4 separate regions of the Homo sapiens genome follow, and all the other regions are linked to region 1. Evidence: promoter capture Hi-C in 16 types of primary human blood cells and fetal thymus (Javierre and others, 2016). All regions are on one chromosome and are shown on one strand. Each heading gives the region's core, a stretch centred on a gene start or on the middle of the fragment in contact. The rest is flanking DNA. Distances are from core to core; before and after follow the strand shown.

Evidence for each region. Contacts are between HindIII fragments. The CHiCAGO score rates a contact against its expected background, and 5 or more counts as called.
Region 2: a fragment that was not itself captured here is called in contact with the fragment with the promoter of KY in region 1 in 1 of 17 cell types (neutrophils); the score reaches 5.3 in neutrophils.
Region 3: a contact is called between a fragment that was not itself captured here and the fragment with the promoter of KY in region 1, in 1 of 17 cell types (neutrophils). The highest score is 7.3, in neutrophils.
Region 4: a contact is called between a fragment that was not itself captured here and the fragment with the promoter of KY in region 1, in 1 of 17 cell types (neutrophils). The highest score is 6.0, in neutrophils.

What each region holds. Positions count from the first base shown.
Region 1 is chr3:134,649,460-134,652,841 of GRCh38, reverse strand. It overlaps KY (kyphoscoliosis peptidase), which reads left to right and starts at 1,820. Exons shown (of 11, transcript NM_178554.6): 1 at 1,820-2,017. The coding sequence starts at 1,882. It also overlaps a transcript of CEP63 not described here. The HindIII fragment of the contact is 8,919 bases long and covers 1-3,382 here.
Region 2 is chr3:134,253,012-134,256,393 of GRCh38, reverse strand. No RefSeq gene overlaps it. Among named protein-coding and RNA genes, the nearest start is that of RYK, 3.8 kb to the right of the region's middle. The HindIII fragment of the contact is 4,822 bases long and covers 1-3,382 here.
Region 3 is chr3:134,287,523-134,290,904 of GRCh38, reverse strand. No RefSeq gene overlaps it. Among named protein-coding and RNA genes, the nearest start is that of LINC02004, 24 kb to the left of the region's middle. The HindIII fragment of the contact is 2,317 bases long and covers 530-2,846 here.
Region 4 is chr3:134,304,669-134,308,050 of GRCh38, reverse strand. No RefSeq gene overlaps it. Among named protein-coding and RNA genes, the nearest start is that of LINC02004, 7.2 kb to the left of the region's middle. The HindIII fragment of the contact is 5,144 bases long and covers 1-3,382 here.

The sequences.
Region 1 (3,382 bases), core at 571-3,070:
ACAACCTGACACTTGAAGGAGTTAGACAACACTGACTGGCCCAGGGTAGTTGGGGGGACTCTGGGACCTGAGATCTGCCTCAGCAATCTCCAACACCCCAAGAGCTTTGCATAATGCATAGTTCTTACTTCCCCAGCCACATAGAGAGTAAGTGTTAGCCAGCCTCCCAGGTGTGCGCGCGCGCGTGTGTGTGTGTGTGTGTGTACCTGCACACATACAGACAGGACAAGACTCACTTTAGCAGAAGGAAACCTGCCTTGGAAGTCAGCCATCTCCACTTGCCTGTCTATGGCCTCAGCTCTCTAGGGACTCCAGTTCAACATTACTGGAAGCCAACAACCTCTCCTTCCATCAGATGCCCAGTGGGTGAGTCAGGGGGTGGGGTGGTGGGGGGGGGCGCTGGTAATGCAATAAGACAACAGCCTTTACACGGAACCAAACTCTGAGCCACTGTTATTGGAGGAAGACCTTCAGAATCTCAGAGTGTGGCTGTGACATCTCTCCTGCTTCTCTGCTCCATCAGTCACTTGTCACTCCATCTTTCCCTTTCCTCACCCTTAAAATGAAGTAAGAATGACAGCTACCATATGAAGACCACTTTCTATACACCAGGCGCCTTACATTCATGCCATTCTCACAACAGCCATGTGAGAAATTTTTATCAACCCAGTGATAAGGGTGAGAAGGTGGAGGGAAAATGGCTGGTCCAAGGTCACACAGCCAGGAAGTGATGGAGCTGGTACTGGAATGCAGTCTGTGTGACACAGGCTGCTCCAAGGAGGATCTGGGAACTCTCAGGACCATGCTACAAGGTGGGGTCCATACACTCCAATGCGGGGAGGGCTCCCAGAGCAAAGGCCTCCATGTGGGGGTGCATTTATTAACAGTAGAAACTCGAATTAGGGGAACGCCCCCAGCAGGGTGGGCCCGTAGTGCCCAGGGGTACCAGGCAGAAGCCTATGTAAACACTCCTGAGACCTACAGCCAAACCCCTGCTGCTGTTGGCTGGGCAGGCCAGGCCGGGCTAAAAATAGAAGGCTTCTCAGGTCCAGCTCCCTGTGCCCCAGCCTCCTCCTCTCCCCCTCCCTCCTTCCCCACAGGGCAGGAGCCAGGCTTCTAGAACGAACCGAGACTTTAAGACTTTCGTTTCAGATCAAAGAGGATCGTTAGCTTGATACTCAATGGGCATGTTCCAAGTTCTACAGGGGCCGTAACTGGGGGGAGCTCCTGACTCCAACACCCCACCCAACTCCCTCCTAGGGAGAGAGAGCTGTCAACCTCCAAAACCAACCCAGGGAAGGAGTGAGGTCGAGGCCAAAACTTGGACAATCTCTGCACATCTTGCAATTCAATCTGGAGCCCCTTTGCTGTCTTTCCTTTTCCTGAATCTACTCTCAATGTTGACAGCACTGTGCGATTTCTGTATTTGCCAGGGGCTTCTCGTGGGAGGTCGGCTCCAGCCCTCTCGAGAACCCTCCGGAGACCGTGGGGATGAGGCAGCGCTCAGCCAGAGAAGCCCTGGAGCCCAGGACCAGCGCTTCAAGTGCACCGGGCGGGAGGCAGGGGCGCAGGGAGGGAGGCTCTGGACCGGCCGCCCCTGCTGACTATGGCCCCGGTGCAGGTCAAGGCTTGGGCCCGGGGATTTCCTTTCAAAGGTGACTTAGAGCCGCTTCATTAGGGTAGCGCCCTCCCAGGCGGGCCCTAATGGCGTGTTTGGCAGAGTCAGCGAAAAGCAGCGCCCTGCGGCTCCAGCGGCGGGGGAGCGCCCTCTTCCGCGCCCTCGCCCTCTCCCGTGTGGGGCAGCTGCGCGCACGGGGCCATTTGCAGCGCAAGCAGCCTAGCGTGCGGCCGCGGCGCCCAGGTCGGAAAGGAGGCGGCATCATGGAGCTGAAGAAGGACATCAACGCTGTATCTATCGACATGCTGCTGATCGTGCACTCGGAGAAGCGGCGCGCCGCACAGGGTACGCTCTCAGACCAGCAGGCGAACCCGAGCTCGCTGCTGCAGCGCGGAGGAGGTAACGCGCGCCCGACCCGGGTCCCCGGGTCCCCCGGCACCTTGGCCTCCTTGCCACAAGGGCCTGCCCGCCGGGGGGCGCCCATTGCTCCCCCGAACGAGGTCAGCGAACCCGACCCTCTCCCCCATGGCTGCCGTCGCTTCCCCGCAGTGGCACCGGCGTCCCGTGGCAACGCGCAGTCCCGTGGCAACGCGCAGCCCCGTGATTGCCCCAGTTTCACTCCCTGTGCAGGCCTGTGGGTGCTTCCGTCACCCCTGGGAGTCTTTTTCCTCCCAGCCACTCCCTAACGGGTGTAGAGCAAGATTGGAAGATACCCTGGAGGAAGGCGGCCAGAGCCTCAGGGCTGACTCATGGGTAGCAGAGGCCTGCTCCCCCCCACAGCACACTGCAGGGCACAGGGGACGCTGGGAAACCTTTGGGCTGAGTCAGACTTTTAGATGGGGAGCTCCCTGTGTGGCCTTGCACAATTTACAGCCTCAGTTTCTCCTTTCTTGAGACTTTCTCCCAGCCTCCTATAGATGGAAGGCATGAAAGGCGTAAAAGGAACGCAGGTTTGGATAGGGTAAGATTTGAAACCTGCTGTCTCCACTTGAACTTATCCATCAATTTTACTTGTCCTACACACTTTCTGGGTAAATTTGTAAGTTGTAGATTGGTAAAATAAAGTGACTGTTTATAGAGTGATTGTGGAAAGCAGGATCCGGGCCTCTCTGTTCTCCAGACGACAGAACACAATGTGAATGGAGTACAGAGGGATGATAATGGAGGTTAAATAAGCCCCTGAAAAGCCAGAGAACCTCAGGGTCCTGGATGGCAAGCTGTCTCCGAGGCTGGTGTGAGGATGCACTAGGCGGACTGCGGGCCAGTTCTTTAGGAGTTAGGCCTGACAGCCCATGCAGGAGAATGACTTCTGCCTCTCTCCTCCCCTCCAGCTCTGGAGCTCCTTGGAATTCCTGCTGCTGCTCTGCCCTTGGTTCTTCTGTCCCCAGAGCCTCTGTGCTCATTGAACATCCACCTTCCACCTGCCTTGCTTAAGTAATGCTGCTGTGGATGGCCTTGCCACTACCAGCCACATAGGCTGGAGCTGCCTCCAGAGCCCTGGGAACCTCTTGGGAAGGCAGGCAGGGGAAAGAAACAGAATCTAGAGGGCTGAGTATGTTGACAGGCGCTCTAGTCTCAGGGCTGATTCCTGACTGAAGCAGGAGTTGTTTGGATTCGTTGGCTCTTTAGTTATCAGACCTACTCTTGGGAGAAGGGGAAATGGCCTGCCCAGGGTATTTGTAGTTAGAAAGTCAACAGAGGGCATCAACTTCTTGATAGAAATGAGACTGCTCTGAATACATGTACCACAGTCCAGAATGCCTT
Region 2 (3,382 bases), core at 383-2,882, 400 kb after region 1:
CAAGGTTCTGGTGGCCACCCTGATTCTTTTGTGAGATGCTCACTTTCTTCCAACTTAGCAAAGATCCCTGGCTCCCTTGTAGGATAATAAAGAGGCTTCTCCAGGCTTTCAGCCCAAGACACTGAATAAGGAATGTTTTTCATATTTCACATGCCAATATAAAATTTACTTTGATGATAGACATCATTTTTGCCGAATTTCTTTTTCACCTTGGGGAGAATGAAATTCTGCACATTTGAGCTAAACAATTCAACATTGAGGTTTGTGGTTAAAAAAAATGCTTATGACAAGTGAAGATGCCCTATAATACTGTGACTTCTCATAGGATCACTTGCCTATTTTAGTTTCAGTTACTGTAGCTAATGCCATTTGTCAATTGTTTAAAGTGCTATGAAAAATGTAATTTTTAAAATGAAATGCTGAACAACCTGGAACTAATATCTAGATCAGCACTGCCCAATAGAAATGTCAGGCCATAAACATAATTTTCTAGTAAAGTCAAAAAAGGTAAAAGAAACATATGAAATACATTTTAATAATATATTTTAACACAATATATCTAAAATATTACCACTCTAACATTCAACCAATATAAAAATTATCAATGAAATATTTTACATTCTTTTTTTTTTTAATACCAAGTCTTCAATATCTGGCATGTACTTTGCACTTACAGCACATCTCAATTCCTACCAGCCACATTTGAAGTACTTTATAGCCACATGTGGCTAGTGCCTACTATACTGGCCAGTGTAGAACTACATGATCTCAATGTGAAAGGTATGTGAAGAAAGAGGGAAGTGAAAGCAGGCTGAAATTCCTGTTTTGTTTAAAGTTAGATATGGCCACTAAGGAACATTCAGTAAATGTAATAACTAGTGTTTGGTACAAATGGTTAACCATATGGAAAAAATAAAATTGTATCATGTGCCATACATAAACATAAATTCCAGATAGATTAAGGAGCTATTTTTTAAGAGAAAAAAGTACAAAATACAAAAAGTATTAATTGGGGGACCTTTGAAAGACACAAAATGCGGAAGCCATAAAGGAAAAGATTGTCAGATTTATCTAAAATAGAAATCCAAAATTTAAGTTAAGTAAAGAACATCATAAGAAAAGTTAAATGACAAGGGATACAGTAAAAGAAAACATCCATAAATCAATAAGAAGACAAATAAGCTAACTAAAAAATAGAATATGTGGGCAGATATTTCAAAGAGTAATTTGAATATGCAATAAGTATATGAGATACTTAACCGCACTAGTGATGAGGGCAATGCAGATTAAACAACAATAAGCTATTTTTCTTTCACTAGACTGTCAACAGCAAAATGAAAAACATTGGCCTATTACCTTGTGTCTCTCATTTATGCCACATTTGGAAATGTATATTTGTAAAATCTTTTGGAAGGCAATTCAGCAGAATCTATCAAAATTAAAACATAACTCCTTTGGACTTGAAGATTCCATTTCAGAGAATCTGTTCTTCTAAATATTTATACATATGCACAAAGATGTATGTGCAAGGATTTGATGTGTATTACCAGAACTGGTAAAATCCATCAGTTCATCCCAACCAAAAGAACACCACAGGGATGCCTCTGTATGCCCTGTCATGAGAACATCCTCGAGATCTCAACTTACTTAGATCAGTCAAAAAAGCAAATCCTGTAGATCACAACTTTTTGTTGTGTTGTCCATTTCTATAAGGCTGAAAAAGAGCACACACATACAATTGTGTGTTTAAACCCATATATGTGTGAGTAACTGCCTAGAGAAAGGGCTCTCAGAACATACATCAAACTGGGCAGTGGGTAAGAGAGACGAGGGTGTGTGTGGAGGGACATATTTATATTTTATTTCACATACTTCTGTGCTGCTTGACTCTTTTACAGTGCAAATGGTTTAATATATTACTTGTGGAAGGAGAAGGTTTATAGAGAGAGCCACATTCCCAACTGCTCCTGGCAAAAGACGAGGCTGATTTCAGGACTTGGAGCCACCCCTTCTCCAACCACCCACCCCCACCCAGCTGAGTGGTTGGGTCAGGTCCATGTTGCTGAGTTGTCTCTGGGTGTCTGTCCTTGCGGGCACCAGGTATTCTCAGCCCACACCAGAGGTCAAACATGGAACACCCATCATCTCTGTGTAGCTTTGACCCCACGCTCCCATCTACCCATCTACCCCATGGCATCTCAAGTCCAAGACTGGCTTTTTAAAGTACAAGTCCTGCTGATGGTATTTCCTGGCCATGCTGAAATATGTCTCCTGGAGGAGGAGAATAAGGTCAACCACTGTGACAAACAAAACCAAGAGTGGAGGGCCAATGTGTGGATTGTGTTGATGACTGTGGCTTTCATTTCCCCAAGGCAAAGAAACCTCAGGAGGCTGTGGTCATGGTTTCTCATTTTCATGCTGAGGCTTTTTGGGAAATTTCAGAAGTTGCCACCCACACCTTGTTAGGGGAGGGAGAGGAAACTTCCTCTTCAGGATGGGCTGGGGATTGTGGGAAGACCTTTGTGTGAGACCAAGTGTCATGCAGAGACAGCAAGAGAGAGACTGGGAATCAATTCCTTCTCCAAGGGTTTAATTAAAGTGTGGGGAAGTTTGCAATCTTATTCAGAAGTTAACATCTGAGCATAGATTTGAAGGAGGTAAGAGATGAAGCCATGTGGGTGTCAGACAGAAGCATTCCAGAGACAGGGAACAGCAGTGCAAAGGCCCTGAGGTAGGATTGTGTCTGGTTTGTTGGAAGAACAGAAAGGAAGCCTTTGTGGTGTGGCAGGAACTAAGGGAGTAGGCGGTGAGCAGAAGATAAGGTCAGAGGGAAGGGAGAAAGGTGGAGAGTGAGAACTACCTTGACATCTTGGAAAGACTTTGCCTTTTATTCTAGGTGAGTTGGGGAACCACTGGTGGTCTGAAAGCCAGAGAGTACATGATCAGGCTGACGTTTAACAGAATGCCTCTGTCTGCTGTGTTGGGAACAGACTGAGCGAGTAAGGGAGAAAGCAGGCAACTGCAGCTGACCAAAAGAGAGACAGGAGAGCTGAGATATTAATGGAGTGACCAGCAGCATCAGAATTACCAGGAGGCTTGGGAAAACAGATTGTTGGGCCCCAGCCCTGGAGCTGCTACCTGTTAGTATGGGCAGTGTCCAAGGAATTTACATTACAAGTTCCCAGGTGATGATACTGCTGGTCTGGGGGCCACACTTTGAGAACTTGTCTTTGTAGAATTTATGAAAACATTTGTTTATCAAAGTTCTCAAGGAAGCACATTGCTCGCTCCTGTGTCCCCAGTGCCTAGCGTGATGCCTGGCACGAGTCTTCATCGAGCTCAGGCTCTGGGCCAGGCTCAGTGCTATTGAATGAGGTTCATG
Region 3 (3,382 bases), core at 439-2,938, 360 kb after region 1:
AAGTCAAGTTGACAAAGTGCTTTCCAAGATTTGCATGGTGAATAAGCACTGTCTATCATTATCTGTCCCTTGCATTGTCACCAAGATTAGAAGTGATTATTTTAGATTTTGCCATTCTGATGAGCAAAAATCATATTTTTTCTTTGTTTTAATTTGTATTTATGTGATTATAGCAGGCTTTAATCTTTTGCCACGTTTGTTTATAACAATGTTTCCACTTGTGTAATTTGTGAGCACAGATGCTGGCTTACTTACTTACTCAAGCCTTAATTTCTTAAACCAATTTTTATAAATTCTTTATGTAACAAAGATGTTACTATTCTGTCTGTGGTAACAGCAGCCTTGTGTCTCCACCTCATCATCCTCATTCTGGTCTCTGCTTTTTCATTTTGGTTATTTTATTTCCATCGTTTTTGTTGTAGTGAAGAAGTTTTAAATTTGTATTTACTCAAATTCATCGGTCTTTTCTTTTGTGGTTTCTTCCTTTTTTCTTTTGTTTTTCTTTCTTTTTGGTTTTCACTTCAAAGCTTACAAATATATTTCCTGTCCTGAAATTTGATTAATATTTGCTTCTATTTTCTTCCCTTTGTCTTCCGTAGTTTGTTTTTTTGACACTTAAATCTGCAATCCAAATAAAACTTAGTTTAGAATTATGGCATTTATTTTTCCAAAAAGTAGGAAGTATAAGACTTCCTGCAATTCCTTAAGCCAAATAAATAAACAAATAAAAGTGAAGTTTGTCCAAAAGTATCTTGGGGCATGTGAGGACTGGGGTGGGCCTGAAATAGAATTTTTGTTTAGTTCTCTTGAACCCTTAGTGTTTCTAAAGTATAGACAGGGTTGGAAATGGCCCATTTGAATAACCTCTTTTCCATCAGGTCCTCTTCAGAGGACACAGAATGAAGTCCAACTGCTAAAATCCTTATTTTATTTTTGAGACAGGGTCTCGTGTTGTTATCCGGGCTGGAGTGCAGTGGCACAATCTCAGCTCATTGCAACCTCTGCCTCCTGGGTTCAAGGAATTCTTGTACCTCAGCCTCCCAAGTAGCTGGGAGTACAGGCATGTATCACCACGCCTGGCTAATTTTTATATTTTTAGTAGAGACAGGGTTTCGCCATGTTGCCCAGGCCAGTCTTGAACTCCTGACCTCAAGTGATCCACCAGCCTAGGCCTCCCAAAATGATGGGATTATAGGCGTGAGCCACCATGCTGGCCCTTCTTTTTTTGTTTGTTTTTTTGAGTGTAACATCTACAGGGTTGACAGTTGTTGGAGGGTATGGGGGTGGTTAGGGCAGGGGCCTTTGTTTCCGGATTCATGAGGTTTTCTTTTTCTTGAGCTGTCTATAACAGCGAATGGCAGTTTATGTTACAGACTAATACTGTGATTTGCATCATCAGGTACATTCAGTTTTCTGCATTAAGAAGGCTATGTAGCTGCAGTCCACAGAAACCCTTTTAAAATGAAGATTGAGTAGGGGATGGACCCAAGAGGTGTATAGGCCAGGTAGTTCATTACAAAGAACAAACACTTACTTTGATTTTTTTTTTTTTTTGTCTGTTTGGGTTTTTTTGTTTGTTTGGTTTGGTTTTTGGTTTTTGGTTTTTGTTTTGTTTTGTTTTGTTTTGTTTTGAGGCAGAGTCTTGCACTGTCACCCAGGCTAGAGTGCAGAGTGCAGTGGCGTGGTCTCAGCTCACTGCAACCTCCACCTCCCAGTTTCAAGCTATTCTCTTGCCTCAGCCTCCCAAGTATCTGGAATTACAGGTATGCACCACAATGCCCAGCTAATTTTTTTGTTTTTAGTAGAGACGGGGTTTCACCATGCTGGCCAGGCTGGTCTCGAACTCCTGACCTCGTGATCCACCTGCCTCAGCCTCTCAAAGTTCTGGGATTACAGGTGTAAGCCACTGCACCTGGTCTGTCTGTTTAAGTGAAGGTGGAGAGATGGCTTACTGCTAATATATAGAGAATGCTAATACATATTTTTAGTCACCAATACAAATTTTATTCTAAACGTAGTCATGAGATATAGGGATAAATAAAATCTAGTAAATCTCAGAGAATTTAATCGTGGTGGCACAAGCCTATAGTACCAGTTACTTGGGAGGCTGAGGTGGGAGAAAAGGAAAATGAATTAAATGTAAAATGATATTCAGGAATTATATTGATTTTATTAGATGTAATAATGGAATTGTGGTTGCTTTTTTGTTGTTCTTATCTGTAGAGATATATACTGAAGAATGTATGAATAAAATAAAACTAAGTGATCTTAGAATTTGGTTTGCTCATCAGGAAGTTTTTTGCACTTTGACTTTTTAGTATATTGCATTAAAATTTGCTTATCTTGATTACTGAGTATTTTTGGAACCCCCTTAAGTTTTACATCTGAGACAAGTGCCATTCTCAACTCACCCTAGTCCTGGCCTTTGGGAGAGGGAACGTCAAGAAGTCAGTCAAGAGGTAGATAATGCAATTACAGAATGGTATGAAAGCTATAAAGGCAAAGCGATGGAGAATCAAGATGGAGTGAGGAGAGAGACTGGGAGAAGGTGTGTGCATGACTGTATATGTCTGTGCATGTTGTTAGGTGGTGTGCAGTGGGGAGTCAGGGGCAAGCACTCCACAGAGAGGATGGAGTTGGAGAAGTGGGGGAGTGGGAGGAATTAAGGATATGTTTTCTGGATAGAAAAGATGGGACTTGCTAATGGATTAGAAAGAGAAGGAGAGCAAAAGGGAAGAGACTGAATGTGGTTATAGTAATGGCAAAGAGTACATTTATCAAGGTGAGGAATAGTGAGGAGAAACAGGATTCAAGGGAAACCGTTTGACTTTGAACCATATTAAGCTTGAGCTACTTATTGAGGACACAAGTAGAGTTGTCACAAAGGCATTCCTGAAGGCAAATCTGGAGCTCGGGTAGAAGGAGTTGAGCAAGAGATACAAATTTGGATGAGGTCACTTATGGAGACAATATAGACAGAAAAATGGAGAGGGCACAGAGCTGAGCTCTGGGGCTAATCAATACTTATAGGTCAGGTAAGAAGGAGAAACCAGCAAATGAGGCTGAGGAGCAGCCATCATTGAGGTAGGAGGAATGCCAGAAGAATTCTAGAAGAACTCTATGAAATGCTGCTGAGAAGTGAGGTAAGCTGAAAAAAGAGAAGTAACCATTAGATATGGTAGCAGGCAGGTCCTTGGTGACTGAGTCATGGTCAGTGCTATGATTGGAACCTGTCCCCCAAAGGCCATGTGTTGGAAACTTGATCCCCAATGGAGCAGTGTTGAGAGGTGGGATTTTTAAGAGGTGATAAAGGTATGAGAGCAAAGTTCTCATGAATGAATGAATTAATGTCATTATCCCAGGAGTGGGCTTGTTGTAAAAG
Region 4 (3,382 bases), core at 478-2,977, 340 kb after region 1:
CATGGAAATGCAGAGCGCTCTGGAAGGTGCTCAGCATACATCGCAGAGGGAAGGAGTGGTGACAGCAGGGAAGCAGTGTCACTTATTCTCCAGGCATATTGCAGAGCTAGACCCTGAGAAAGGATCAGAGTTTATTAATTCATACAATTACTTATTGATCACCTAATATGTGCAAGGCAAGGTTAACAAACTTTAGCAAACAACTATCACAAAACATTCAAACAGAGGCAAGTGTTAAACAGCAGAGTTAGTGTAGGCTGGTGTTCTGAGGACTAAGAATTGTATTCCCCAAAGCCACCAGGACAGAACAACTGAAAACACACAAAGCCAGGCCCAGGCAGAGTAAGGATTTCTGTGCTCTGGTGGCCTGCGGGAGTTGCATCACCACTAAGCTCTCTGGAACATGCTTGGGCCCACTCAGTCCATTTGAAGCCAGGACAAGGTGTGAGGTGAGCCCTCTGTAATCATCCCTGCTCATGACTAGGATTCCAGCCAACTAAAATGTGGTTTTGTTAAAAGCTAGTAACCCCTGGGTGTTCCCCCAGCTTTCTCCTACCCACACCTGCAGAACGGGATATGAGCCCTTCCTGGGTTTGGTGATGAAGAAAGAGAGGGTCTGGTGGCCCAGAAGAGGTACGCAAGATCTGCCAACCCCAAACAGGGCCCTTAGGGAACAATCAGTTCTTCCGCAATCCAGAAGAATTTACGCATCTGCACAGGTGAATTGAAAGATCAAAATACGTGAAACATTTGTTGCTGTGCTTCCCAACCACCCCTAAATTACAGACTTCTGACTTGTGGATATTCATCCTCACACCCTTGAGAAGTGCCCTGACCTCACAGAGCCTATTACTTATATTACTTATTAAACACCTACTATGTGCTGGGCAGGGTTAGCAAAATCAGGGGTGGAGAAGGCTGGGTACTAAGGTCAGGGAAGGGCTTCTGCCCAGTTGAGGCTTCTCCTTTCTCATAATCTCCTTTCCCCCTTGGATTCTTTTTCTCTTCTGTCCATCTCACCCATATTCACCTCTAGGGGGATGCAGGGCTTGTCTTTGGCCCACTGCTATCTCCACCAAGCACAAAACATTAATACTCCCTCTGCCTCCAGCACTGCCATTCAAGGTAAATGCAAAATTGTTGCTGCTTCAATGTTTCTACTTTCTTGCAAACTTGGAAAACAACACTGCTACAGTCTTTTTTTGAGTCTTATTCTGTCACCCAGGCTGGAGTGCAGTGGCGTGATCTCCGCTCATTGCAACATTCACCTCCCGGGTTCAAGAGAGTCTCCTGCCTCAGCCTTCCGAGTAGCTGGCACTACAGGTGCATGCCACTACGCCCAGTTAATTTTTGTATTTTTAGTAAAGATGGGGTTTCACCACATTGGCCAGGCTGGTCTCGAACTCCTGATCTCAGGCAATCTGCCCGCCTTGGCTTCCCAAAGTGCTGGGATTACAGGCATGATCCTCCGCACCCGGCCCAGTCTTACAACTTTTCTGGAAAGGTCCTGTACAGCTGTTCAGCTTGGGAGTGAGTTGGAGTAGGAGACGAGCTGGGAACCACCCACCATGGAAAACGCTGTTTCTGTAGAGACATTCTGAGGTCAAACAACTGATTTCAAAAGCTCCAGCTCCCTAGATCCCTGTGGATCTGTTTTCCCTTTTCCTTGTCAGGCACCTGGAAACATTCCACCCTTTTCCTGACTCTCTTGTCTGCCTAACACTCTAATCAGTCTTTCTTGGCTCTGTCCTTGTACCTCAAGAAGGAGAGAAACAAAGGAAGGAGCCAGTTCACGGACAAGGGCTCTTCCAAATTCAAAAGTGTTTTTCACTTCCATTAGGAGGGTTTAGAAGGTACATAAAAACTAAGCGACAAATCAATAAATAAACAAACAACTATTAACTCCAGGAAAAAATAAAGGGAGACATAATCATAATGGACTTTTGGACTCAACCATGAATTGAGCTCACATGTTTATCCAAAAAATAGTAACAATTTAACAAAAAGTTGGGACATAACTATCATAGCAGGATGCAGAAAATGATAGTAGGGACATGGTGGTGGTGTTATCACTGAATCTTTGTCTTCCAATGATAGGAAATCAAAAGATAACATCTAGAGTTGAGAAGTACGGCAGTAAGTACCAGGAAAATAACAGTTTAAAAGTTTAGGGAGGCTGGGCACAGTGGCTCACGCCTGTAATCCCAGCACTTTGGGAGACTGAGACAGGTGGATCACCTGGGGTCAGGAGTTTGAGACTAGCCTGGCCAACATGGTAAAACCCCGTCTCTACTAAAAATACAAAAATTAGCCAGGTGTGGTGGCACACGCATGTGGTCCCAGCTACTTGGGAGGCTAAGGCAGGAGAATCGCTTGAACTAAGGAGGCGGAGGTGTAGTGAGCCAAGATAGCACCACTGCTTTCCGGCCTGGGCAACAGAGCAAGACTCCAACTCAAAAAAAAAAAAAGAAAAAAAAAAGTTTAGGGAGAGGAACAGGAATAAGAAATTGTGGGACAGTGTGATTTTTACTATAAACTATATAAGCTATATTTTGCTCATAAAACAATCCTCATGTACTACTTTGATTTTCAAAAATAATAATCTAGAATTTTTGAAAAGAGAGCCGAATGTCTGGGAGATAATGTTGAAAAATATCTCCTTTAAGGCAGAGTGTAAAGACTGAGAGATGGAAAACATAGGATAAAATAAAATAACATGAAAATAAATCTAGACCCAGATGTCTGGATCCAGGAGGGGAGGAAACAACTGAGGAAGTAACCAAAAGACATTTTCCTAAGGCAAAGAAAGACACAGATGATCAGAGAAAAGGATCCATTGAAGGTGAGAATATGAATAGGGAAATCAAGAAAAACAAACAAATACCAACACTGATGACCAATAAACACAGGGAATAATATAAGCCACACACACAGCTAAAAAAAAAAATGCATATTAAAACACCGATGTTTTCACCTACCCAGATGGGTAAAACTTTGAAACCTTGAAATTACCCAATATTAATAAGTAAATGGAGAATCAGCACTTTGATAATCTGTTACTGAGAATGCAATGGTGCTGAGTTTGCGCAAGGCAAATTGGTGAGAAAAAAAATCAGAATTTAAAATGCCCTTGCTCTTTATTCCAGCACTGTCATTATTAGGAATTCATCCCTTGCATAAACTCATTAAAGTATGTCAAGATATCTATAATTGATAGCAGCAGGAGGCAGGCAAGAACCTAGGCAGATAGGGATGGATCCCCAGTAAAACCCCACCTCCAAGCCAAAAACAACTGTTTAAAGCCTGAAAGTCAAGCTACAAGTCAAATCCACAGACCAGATTGAGAACCTGTCATCCCGTTTGACATGCTTTCCTGATTGAT